2 separate regions of the Homo sapiens genome follow, and region 2 is linked to region 1. Evidence: promoter capture Hi-C in 16 types of primary human blood cells and fetal thymus (Javierre and others, 2016). All regions are on one chromosome and are shown on one strand. The core of a region is centred on a gene start or on the middle of the fragment in contact, and the rest is flanking DNA. Distances in the headings are between cores, read along the strand shown.

Region 1 (5,763 bases), core at 266-2,765:
GTAATAGCCATTGTAACTGGTTTAAGATGATATAGCATTGTGGTTTTGATTTGCATTTCCCTGATGATTAGTGATGACAAGCATTCTTTCATGTTCGTTGGCCGCTTGTATGTCTTCTTTTAAGAAGTGTCTGTACATGTCCTTTGCCCATTTTTTAATGTATTCTGTTTTTTGCTTGTTGTAAGTTCCTTACAGATTCTGGATATTAGGCATTTGTTGGATGCATAGTTTGCAAATATTTTCTCACATTCTGTAGGTTTTCTGTTTACTCTATTGGTAGTTTCTTTTGCTGTGCAGCAGCTCTTTAATTAGGTCCCACTTGTCAATTTTTGTTTTTGCTGCAATTGTTTTTGGGGACTTAGCCAAATTTTCTTTGCCAAGGCCAGTGTTGAGAAGGATATTTCCTAGGATTTTTATAGTTTGAGAGCGTACATTTGAGTCTTTAATTCATCCTCAGTTAATTTTTGTATCTGGTGAAAGGTAGGGATCCAGTTTCAATCTTCTGCATACTAACCAGTTATCCCAGCACCATTTATTGAATAGAGTGTCCTTTCCTTGTTGCTTGTTTTTGTTGGCCTTGTTGAAGATTGGATGGTTGTATAGTCACAGTTTACCTTGTATCTGGGATCTCCTAACCTCCTAAATAATTTTTTAAAAATTTTCATACATTACGGTTAAGTTTTTGTGCTCTAGACTTTTATGGGTTTTGATAAATGCATAATATCATCTATCCACCATTGCAGTATCATACAGAATAGTTTCACCACTCTAGGCAATCTCTTGTGCTTCACCTACTCAAATCTGTGTCTGTGAACCTCTAGAAACCACTGATATCTTTATTTTCTTTATTTTTTCATTTTTAGAGACAGGGTCTTGCTTCGTTTCCCAGTCTGGAGTGCAGTGGCACCATATATATGGCTCACTGCCACCTTTACTTCCTGGGCTCAAAGGATCCTCCTGCCTCAGCCTCCCAAGTAGCTGGGACTACAGGTGTGCACCACCATGCCCAGCTAATTTTTAATTTTTTTTGTAGAGCCAGGGTCTTGCCATCTTGCCCAGGCTGCTTTCAAATGATATCTTTACCCTCTCTATAAGTTTGCTTTTTCCAGAATGTAATATAATCATGCAGTATGCAGCAGTCCTTTCATGCTGGCTTCTTTCATTTAGCAATACACATTTAAGAATCATCTATGTCCTTGTACAGCTTGATAGCTCATTCTTTCCTATCTCTGAATAGTATTTCATTGTATGGATATACCAGAGTTTATTCATTTCTGTGTTGAAGAACATCTTGATAGCTTTCAGTTTTTGGTGATAATTTTATAAAATTCTATAAACATTCATGTGAAAGTTTTCTGTAGTTAAAATTTCTCAAATCATCTAGGTAAATATCTAAGAACCCAGCTGCTGGATTACAAGGTAAAAATATGTTTAGCTTTGTTAGAAACTGCTAAGTTATCCATCAGAGTGGTTGTACCATTCTGCATTTTCTCCGGTGATGAATGAGAGTTCTTGTTGCTCCTCATCCTAACCAGTATTTAGTATTAGCATATTTTGGTTTTTAGCCCTCTTAATACATGTACAATGTTATCTCATTATTATTTTAATTTTTATATACCTAATGACAACCAATGTTGAGCATCTTTACATGTACTTATTTGCCATATATATGGTGGTATCTGTTTAGAACTTTTGCTTACTTTTTAATTGAGTTGTATTTTATTCTTGAGTTTTAAGCATCACTCTGTATATTTTGGATGTATTATTTTTATTTTTTCTATCTTTTTTTTTTTTTTACCAGATATGTGTTTCACAAATATTTTTTTCTCATTCTATGGCTTGTCCTTTAACTCTCTTAATATTTCTCAAAGAGCAGATGTTTATAATTCTAATAAAGTCTTACTTTTTTTTCATGTATTGTGCTTTTGGTGCTGTATTTAAAAACTCATCGACAAATCTAAGATTCCATAGATTTTCTCTTTTCTTTTTCTTTTAGATGTTTTATAGTTTTTCATTTTAAAGTTAGGTACTTGATCAATTTCAACTTAATTTTTGTGAAAGCTGTAGAATATGTGCTAGGTTCTTTTTGTTTTAATTTGAGTATCCAATTGTTTCAGCACTATTTGTTTAAAATGTCAACATTTGCTTCATCGACTTGACTTTGAATCTTTGGGAAAAATGGAAACTACCATTGCAAAATTATAACTGAGACAGTGAAAGATATTTGACCTAACCAACTCCATTTTCTTCTAACCTCCAAGCTGTCCTTGTTCATTCCTCGGTGTAGGCTGAACTAACTTTGGGAGGAACTTAGTTTATAGTTTAAAACAAAAACAATAACAGCCCTTTCCCCAGACAAACCTCCTTCTTGCCTGGGGACTAGACTGCCTTTGTAGGACTAACAAATTAGCCACAAGATTAGAAATTATGGGCTGGGTGCGGTGGCTCATGCCTGTAATCCCAGCACTTTGGGAGGCCAGGCGGGTGGATCATGAGGTCAGGAGATCGAGACCACCCTGGCTAACATGGTGAAACCCCATCTCTACTAAAAATACAAAAAAAAAAAAAAATTAGCCGGGTGTGGCGGCAGGCACCTGTAGTCCCAGCTACTCGGGAGGCTGAGACAGGAGAATGGTGTGAACCCAGGAGGTGGAGCTTGTGGTGAGCCAAGATCGTGCCACTGCACTCCAGCCTGGGCGACAGAGTGAGACTTGGTCTCAGAAAAAAAAAAAAAAAAAAAAACAAAAAAACCCTAATCTGCTCTTAAGATCAGTGATTGAGATAAATTTGCAGACCCTCCCCTTGATGGATCAGCTGGCACCACCCAGATCAATTAACTGGCTCATCTGATCTTGTGGCTCCAGCCAGGAACTGACTTGGCCCAAGAGGACAGCTTCAATTCCCTATGATTTTATCCCCTTCCTGACCAATCAGCACTCTTGGCTCACTGGCTTCCCCCCGCCTACCAAGTTGTCCTTAAAACATCTGATCCCTGAATGCTCAGGGAGACTGATTTGAGTAGTAATAAAGCTCTGGTCTCCTGCACAGCTGGCTCTGCGTGAATTACTTTTTCTCTATTGTAATTCCCCTGTCTTGGTAAATTGGCCCTGTCTAGGCAGTGGGCAAGATGAACCCAATGGGAAGTTATAAATTCATTTGAATATATGTTTGGGCCTATTTATAGGCTCTCTGTTTTGTTCCACTGATCTATGTGGTTTTTTTTTGGTGAGGTGAGGTCAATGCTATGTGGTCTTAATCATTGTAGCTTTACAGTAAGTCTTAAAATAAGATAGTGTGAATCCTCAACATTATTCCTCTGTTCCTGCAGGATTGTGTTGGTTATTCTGGATCTTCTGCCTTTTAATTTTTCCTATAGAGGCAAAAGGAAAGCTTCTCTTCTGCTCTCTGAGGATTTGCTGCTGAAAAAAACTGACAATAGATAGATTAACAAAAGAAAGTCATATAACTCTATTAATGTGCAGAAGCATGGGAGCCATGGAAAATATGAGTCTCAAAGAAGGGCCAGATGGCTGCAGCTTAAATAACACTCTTCATAGGGGAGAGGGAGATGGGAGTGCAGGCAATTTAGAGTATAGGCAATGATGTTTAGAGAAATGAATTAGCCTAAAAAAAGACAAAGTTCTTTTGAGATCTGGGCGAGGTGGTGGCAAGTTATGAGAAGGTGATGAGATGTTCACCATGAACAAAATTTGTCTTATTATGCAGATAGTGTCCCTGGTAATCTCTTGGAGCTTCCCTCAGAAGTCTAGATGAAAAATCTCTCTGAGCGTGGTGATGACTTCAGATCTAGTCTCTTCTCCAGTGGTTAATCTTTCCCTGTTTTCTGTTGAAATTTCTAGGAAGTGTGTTTTAAGACAATTTCATGACTTCTGGAGGAACTTTTTTAATCAGATAAGGGAACTTGAGAGAAGGGTTTTCCTGAGGCTTCAATAAAGGAAGGGGTAAGGGGGGGCAGAGATTAAAGAGAGGCCATGGTCCTGAGGCTTATTTCTGAGGCCTTTCAACATTTTTTTTTTCAAAGCACTCAGCATGCCAAACTGCCATATTTTGGGTTGTCATTTTCTGAACCCCAATAAAACTTTAGAATCAGCTTATCAATATCTCCAAAATAGTGTACTAAGATTTTCTTTGAGATTCAATTGAATCACTTGAGAGAGTTTGGAAGAATTGTCATCTTAAGAATATTGAATCTTGGCTAGGCGTGGTAGCTCACACCTGTAATCTCAACACTTCGGGAGGCTGAGGCGGGCAGATCACGGGGTCAGGAGTTCGAGTCCAGCCTGACCAACATGGTGAAACCCTGTCTCTACTAAAAAAATACAAATTATCTGGGCATGGTGGTGGCTGCGTGTAATCCCAGCTACTCAGGAGGCTGAGGCAGGAGAATCGCTTGAACCTGGGAAGTGGAGGTTGCAGTGAACCGAGGTCACGCCATTGCATACCAGCCTAGGTGACAGAGTGAACCTCTGTCTCAAGAGAAAAAAAAAAAAAGGGAATATTGAATCTTTAAACTTGTAAATACGAGGCATCTCTCCATATATTTACACAACTCTTTGATTTTTTCATCATTGTTTTGTGTTTTTTGGTCTATAGATCCTAAATATATATGTATGGTTATATTTGTATGTGAATACTTCATTGTTTCAGTTTGGGGGAGGCTATAATAAATGCCTCTTTTTAAAAAAAATTATAAATCCCAATTGTTCTTTGCTTGTATGTAAACATGGACTTGACGTTTGTGTAATAACCTTGCATCTTGTGAACTTCTATAATTGCCTATTAATTCTCACTGCAGCCTCCGCCTTTGGGTTCAAACAAATCTCTTGCCTCAGCTTCCTGAGTAGCTGAGAGTACAGGCGCATGCCACCAAGCCTGGATAACTTTTGTATTTTTAACAGAGATGGGATTTCACCAGGTTGGCCAGTTTGGTCTCGAACTCCTGACCTCAGGTGATCCACCTGCCTCGGCCTTCCAAATTGCTGGGATTACAAGCGTGAGCCACTGAGCCCAGCCACTTGCCTATTTATTCTAAGTTGCTGCTGTTCATAGTTGCTTTGATTTTCCACATAGAAAATCATGTCATCTGTGTATTAAGACAGTTTTATTTCTTTTTTTCCAATTTGTATACCTTTTATTTATTTTTCTTACTCTTTTGTATCAATTAGTATTTCCAATACAAAATTGAAAAGTAATGACAAAACATCCTTGTCTGTTCCTGATCTTAAGGAAAAATTTTCCAGACACCCACCACAAAGTATGATGCTAGCGGTAGGAGGTTTTGTAATTTTAAAACACCAAATTAAGGAAGGCCCTCTCTATTCCTACTTTGATGTGTGTTTTCATGCTGAATGGGCATGGATTCTGTCACATAATTTTTTCGTTTCAATTGATACAGGCACATAATTTTTCTGGGTCTGTTACATTAGTTGATTTTTTTGAATGTGAGTTAACCTTGCATACTTGAAATAAACTTTCTGGGTTGTAGTGTATTACTGTTTTTATACATTCTCTTCAATTTGTTATTATTTAGTTGAGAAATTTTGCTTCTGTTCTTAAAGGATATTGGTCAGTAGTTTTCTTTTCTCTTAATGTCTTTATCTGCTTTTGGTAGGAGGGAAATGCTGATATTATGTAATAAGTTAGGAAGTGGCCCTTCTGTTTCTGTTGTGGAGAAACGGCATTATTTGTTTCCTAAGTGTTTGGTAGAATTCATTAACTGAAACCATCTGTTTCTCAGGCTTT
Region 2 (5,937 bases), core at 639-3,138, 5.0 Mb before region 1:
AAACAGTTTTATTACCCACAAAATTCTCTGGTGTTCATTTGTAGTCAGCCCTACCCTAGGCCTTTGCAACCGCTGATCTTTTTCCTGTCCCTATGGTTTTGCCTTTTTGAGAAAGCTATATAAATGAATCATTAATATGAATAATTACATATAAATACGTAATATTTTGAGTTTGGCTTTTTTCACTTAACATTATGCATTCAAGATTTGTTCCATAACAATACCATGGTAATTTTTAAAAAAACAACAACAAAAGCCCGGGTGCGGTGGCTCAAGCCTGTAATCCCAGCACTTTGGGAGGCCGAGGCGGGCGGATCACGAGGTCAGGAGATCGAGACCAGCCTGACTAACACAGTGAAACCCCGTCTCTACTAAAATTACGAAAAAATTAGCCGGGCGTGGTGGCGGGCGCCTGTAGTCCCAGCTACTCGGGAGGCTGAGGCAGCAGAATTGCTTGAACCTCGGAGGCAAAGGTTGCAGTGAGCCGAGATCGCGCCATTGCACTCCAGCCTGGGCGACGGAGCAAGACTCCGTTTCAAAAGAAAAAAAAAAAGAAAAGAAAATTTGTGCATGTTGTATCAGCAGTTCATTCATTTTTATTGCAGAATAGTATTCCAATGTGGAGGTATCAGAGTTTGTTTATCCATTATCTAGTCGCGAGACACTTGGTTCGTTTAGTGGTTATGAATAAAGCTTCTGTAAAATTTGGAATACACATATTTTAAATGTACGGTTTAATGAATTTTGATAAATGTATACATCCACTTAACCTCCAGCCTAATTACGATATGGAAACCCTGTGTGTTCCCTCCTGTCTTTTTCTAGTCAATCTTTCCTAACCTTTATTCTGATTCCCATAACCACAACTTTTTCCTTCCTGTCCTAGCCAAGTTCATATAAAAGGAATTATGCAGTATAGAAGGAATTGACATTCCTTTTATCCCAAGAGGAATAAGTGATTGAAGACTTTTAAGAAGGAAATAGGCACAATCTGATTTATGTTTGTAATGATCTTTTTGGCTACTGTGCGAAGAATGGTGAGTATGCCACTTAAGTATTATTTTTCTTCCCATCTTCCAGGGGGAATATGACTCAATGAAATTCTTGGGTCGACCAGAATTTCCATACTGGACCCATTATTAAGGGAACCTGGAATTATTTCTGCCATTCCCGATTCTTCCCAGCAGATGGCCCCAAAGTTCAGTTCCTGAATTGCCTCGCGGAGCCGCGGGCTGCAACGTGAGGCGGCCGCTGCCAGTCGACTCAACCACCGGAGTGGCCCCTGCAGTTGGATAGCAACGAGAATCCTCCAGGGGTGCAGGGCGACGGCTTCGGCCGCACCGCGGGCTAGCCAGGGCTGCGTGCCCGCCTCTGACCCTCAGCAGAGGTGTCTCTGGCCAGGAGGAGCTGAAGTTCTGCAGGACATTGGTCCGCCCGCGGACAGTCCACTCCGCGGGGACTTTCTCTGGATAAGGAGTGCGTGCGAGTGGCTCCCAGGCAGACAGGGTGTCTAGAAGGCTACACGCTAGGGAAGGTGGCTCCTTGGATTTAAAGAGGAGGAAAGGAGGGGGCATCTAAACTAGGCTTTGGAGAGAACTAATGGGAGGGGCGCCCGGGGTGGGGGGGCGGGCTGGAAAACAGAGGGGACAGCCAGGACTGGTGTTGGGTGTCAGGGAACAGACGGAGCGGACTGCGTGGGTCCAGCCAAGGAAAGTGAAGCAAGCAGACTTGTTTGGGTCAAGGTTGCCTAGGGAAGCGGAGCACTTAAGTGCCTCTTTTTCCCCTTCTCCAGCCTCCTCCACAGTGGTGAGGTCACAGCCCCTTGGAGCCCTCCCTCTTCCCACCCCTCCCGCTCCCGGGTCTCCTTTGGCCTGGGGTAACCCGAGGTGCAGAGCTGAGAATGAGGCGATTTCGGAGGATGGAGAAATAGCCCCGAGTCCCGTGGAAAATGAGGCCGGCGGACTTGCTGCAGCTGGTGCTGCTGCTCGACCTGCCCAGGGACCTGGGCGGAATGGGGTGTTCGTCTCCACCCTGCGAGTGCCATCAGGAGGAGGACTTCAGAGTCACCTGCAAGGATATTCAACGCATCCCCAGCTTACCGCCCAGTACGCAGACTCTGTGAGTACCCGGGAGAGATCAGGGTAGGACCCAGAGATCAAGGGCATCTGCAGAGGTGGCCCGAAGTGCACAAAAGCAGCTCAATAACAGCCCGAAGTAGTGTGTGAGTGTGTGTATGTGTGAGTGAATGTCTGTGTGTGTAGATGTGTGTGTGTGCTAAAAACTTAATCGCCCACACTTGGGAAGGTATCATTGTTGACATCCTCATTCCCAACACAGGAAAATGTTACAAAACTTTGGTGTACAATGACCGTGAGAGCTGTTCTTTCCAACAAGCTGCTATTCAGCACTTTGCCTAACCCTGGTTGAATCTGTTTTATTTGAATTAATAAGGATAATGGCATCTCAGGAACTGACCTTTTTGATCTTACCTTGGGTAATAAAAAATTGCAAAAATATGTATTTCTCCTTTTTGTTTCTCTAGATGGGAGGTTATCTTAGCAGTTCTGCTGATTCATCAAATTGTTGACAAAGGTTTAAGCAGGGGCCCTTTTTAAAATGAACTGTCTATACAGTATCTGTAAGTTACTTACTCAAATGTGAACTGCCAGTGAAATAGTACGTCCAGAACCCTGCTTTGTGATAGAGGTATAAAGAAATGAAATTTCATAAAAGTATAGTACATTTATCTGCATGTTAAATGTTACCAGATTAGAAACCTGATGTTAAATAAGATTATACACACACAACCTGTTTCTTAACAGCAATTTAAATCAGTGATCATTGAAATTGTAGACAAAACCAAGGGAATAAAGTCTGTCTTGATTAGTTAAAAAGAGAACAGAAAGAAAGGACAGTAAAACAACCTAGGCTGGTTAAATCCAGTTAAGATAAAAAAAAATGCAGGTTATTAAAGAAAATGTTGATAGATGAAAAGAAATGGGAAAGTTGCACCTCTAGATTTTCTCAAGAATTTAGCTCATGAAGACTATTTAACAGTAGATGAATATTTGAGCACAGAGATATATTTCTGTGCTCAGAGATATCCTAGTGTCTTAGCACACCTGAATTAATTAGTTCAATAACCTCCAAACAGTGTGGTAGTCATTCTCCATGCTGCCACCACAGAATAAGATGTGTAAAAGGTGTAATGGCCTCTTGATTACACCTCTACATAGGTTGCTTGTCACCTCTAGAATAAAATTCTTTTGTGCAGCCTACCAGATCTTTCAAGACCTAGTCAAGTCTTTCCAACCTCATTGCTCCTCATTTCTCTAACTTCCCCCTCCTGCTGAGAACTTCTGGCACTTCCCCAAAGGTCCCTGCTGTTACAGCTGCCCTTGCCTTTCTTCCCACTTTCTGGCCCCTCTGCCTGAAGCACATTTCACCCATTTCTTCACCCAGCTAATGCCTACTCCCAGATCCAGATCCTGGATCAACCCTGCAGGAAGCTTCTCCTGACCCATGACCTTCAGGCTGGGTAAGCTATACCCCCCTTCCCAACAGCGTTCTCTGCATGAACCTAACCCTAGCCCTTAGACATTGTCTACTTTCTTGTAACTTGTTATTTATTTGCATGCCCACTCAAGCAGGACACAAGCTTCTCTAACATAGGGAACTGCCATTCAACCCCGAATTCCTGAAACCCTGGAACTACTTAGACACTCAGAAAAAACAAAAAAAAAAAAACTTAAGTGAATAAATAAACAAATGAATATGCCAGGTCTCTGAATGTCCACTCTATGTTGGGGAGAAAGAAATCCAAAGACATCACTTCTTCAGAGACTTCTTTAACAGTGGCAGAAATTCAAGTCATTGAAGAGAGATGTGGCTCTGACAGTGAAAAGGAACTCGTAGACATCCTGTTTAAAATTCCACCAAAAGTTGAGAAAGAAAGGGTAATGGAGAATGAGCAATGGAACAGGAGTCAGGAAACCAGCATTCTCTTTAGCCCTTCTTTACTAACCATGAAATTGTGTAAGATGACTGATTTGGAAGGAGCCAAATTTCCTTCTGGGTAAAAGAGAATGTTCAACTAGGTGCTTTCTAGGTGATGACATGATGCTGATGAGAATAGTCTGAGGGAAGGCACTGAATCACAAGAAAAAGACATAAAGACAGTGGCAAGGAGGATCTGCCCTTGAGAATAATGGAGAGGGAGGTAGTATGTCCTGAAGAATAAAGTTATTCTGAGATCGAAAAGAGAAACCTGATAAAAAGTGTGGGTAAAACAAAATGGTAGTCTCCTTTGAACAATGGCTACTACCATCTGCAACAGTAGAAAAATGATTTTTAAATCTTTTGGGGGCGGTAGAACTCTTTGTTGAAGAAAAGCATATGAGAGAAGTAAAACATGTAAAGCTAACAATTATATTGTGTTTACTTACGGGGGCGGGGGGTCCTGTTCTCAGCGCTTTGCATGAACTCACCCAGTGAATCCTCACCAAATCCAATTAAGTAGGTGATGTTATTATGCTCATTTTATAGATGAGGACCTTGAGGCACAAAAATAAAATGAAGTAATTTGCTCAATGTTGCACAGCTTGTAAGTGGTAAAGTCAGGATTTGAATATCATATCATCAACTATGGAGCCTGCACCCTTAAGCCACCACTCTCAGATGAGAAGTGTGTCTCACCACACCAGTGTTCCCCTGATGGTCATAGGCTTTGGAGAAAAAAGTCTGAAAACAAGTCACATTCAGTAAACCGACTGATAACCTCGGGGGCTATTCATCAGATGCAAGAACTCAGAAAGCAGGAGGTTAGCAGGGAAAGGAAAGAAGAAGGAAGGAAGAAAGAGAGAGTGGAAGAGAGGCAAGGAGGACAAGAAAGACTAAGTTAGTCTTTCTTGACAAGAAAATCTAGATCTTTTTTTACATCTTTCTAGACAAGAAAGATCTAAGTTATGGAAGGTATTCCTTGCTGAAATAAACCAAGTTTTTGTCATTAAAAAGCCGTTCTGGGTGGTGACCTCTTTTTGGAATCTACTTAAATTATACAGGATCTACTACTGAGGCATGTTCTCTCACAAGTTTTGTATTATTCAGAGTGTACCTCTTTTTAAAGTTTTTGAAGAGCTTACACTGGTTTAAAATGTAAGGTATTTTGTTCCTGTAGAGTTATTTGCATTACTTCTGCAACCTTCATTAAGATGCTGTATAACCACTTCTTAGACATTTTACAAATTATGATGGTGCCGAGAACAACTCTTTCTAAACTTTATCTTCTACTCATAGATTATTGTTCTGAAAGGTAAACAGCTCTCTTGCCCTACTACCCATATCCCAGCCCCGTGGTCTTATGGATGCAGGGGAGAGAGTTACGGACTGTGGCCCTCACTGAAGAAGTGATGCTGTATCTTTTCCTCACTCCTCCCCTCCAGAAGGGTATGATGCTTTACCTGAGTGGAAGGTGAGGGAGAGCTGGGATCCCTACTTCCCCCACTGCCAGTGGAACATTCTAGAATCTTTGATGTGTAGGTAGTTTGAAAAAAATCACTCTCTTCCATTGAAAATTACTGATTTAAGGAAACTTAAATGAAGCAAGAGAATAAAATTAAAAATTTAAATGTTGGCATATAATTATAGATCATATATCTCAAAACCAAGGATAACAAGATTGACCCATCACCCTCTCTTACTCAGAAAGTTGCCATTTGTTGCCTCTGTGCATGAGAAGATCCTTCCTTCTCTGAATAAGGAGGTAGAAAGGATTTGACAACCATTCTGCACCACTCTATGTATTTGTGTGGATTCTTCCTCCAGAAAGTGCTGGCACGCCTTACTGTGTTGTTTTAACCCTGCTTTCAGTTTCATTATGACAGTAACTGCTACATCTGCCTTCTCCAACCCCACTGCCATCTGTGGTCTTGGGTTTCG

Evidence for each region. The method cuts DNA at HindIII sites, captures the fragments that hold promoters and counts their contacts. A CHiCAGO score of 5 or more calls a contact.
Region 2: a contact is called between the fragment with the promoter of TSHR here and a fragment that was not itself captured in region 1, in 6 of 17 cell types (non-activated CD4 T cells, total CD8 T cells, activated CD4 T cells and 3 more). The highest score is 13.6, in non-activated CD4 T cells.

Annotation. Positions count from the first base shown.
Region 1 is chr14:85,935,000-85,940,762 of GRCh38, forward strand. The region is part of intron 1 of LINC02328 (long intergenic non-protein coding RNA 2328); the gene reads left to right. Among named protein-coding and RNA genes, the nearest start is that of LINC02328, 3.2 kb to the left of the region's middle. The HindIII fragment of the contact is 3,745 bases long and covers 1-3,388 here.
Region 2 is chr14:80,953,733-80,959,669 of GRCh38, forward strand. TSHR (thyroid stimulating hormone receptor) reads left to right here and starts at 1,889. Exons shown (of 10, transcript NM_000369.5): 1 at 1,889-2,118. The coding sequence starts at 1,949. It also overlaps a transcript of CEP128 not described here. The HindIII fragment of the contact is 2,816 bases long and covers 692-3,507 here.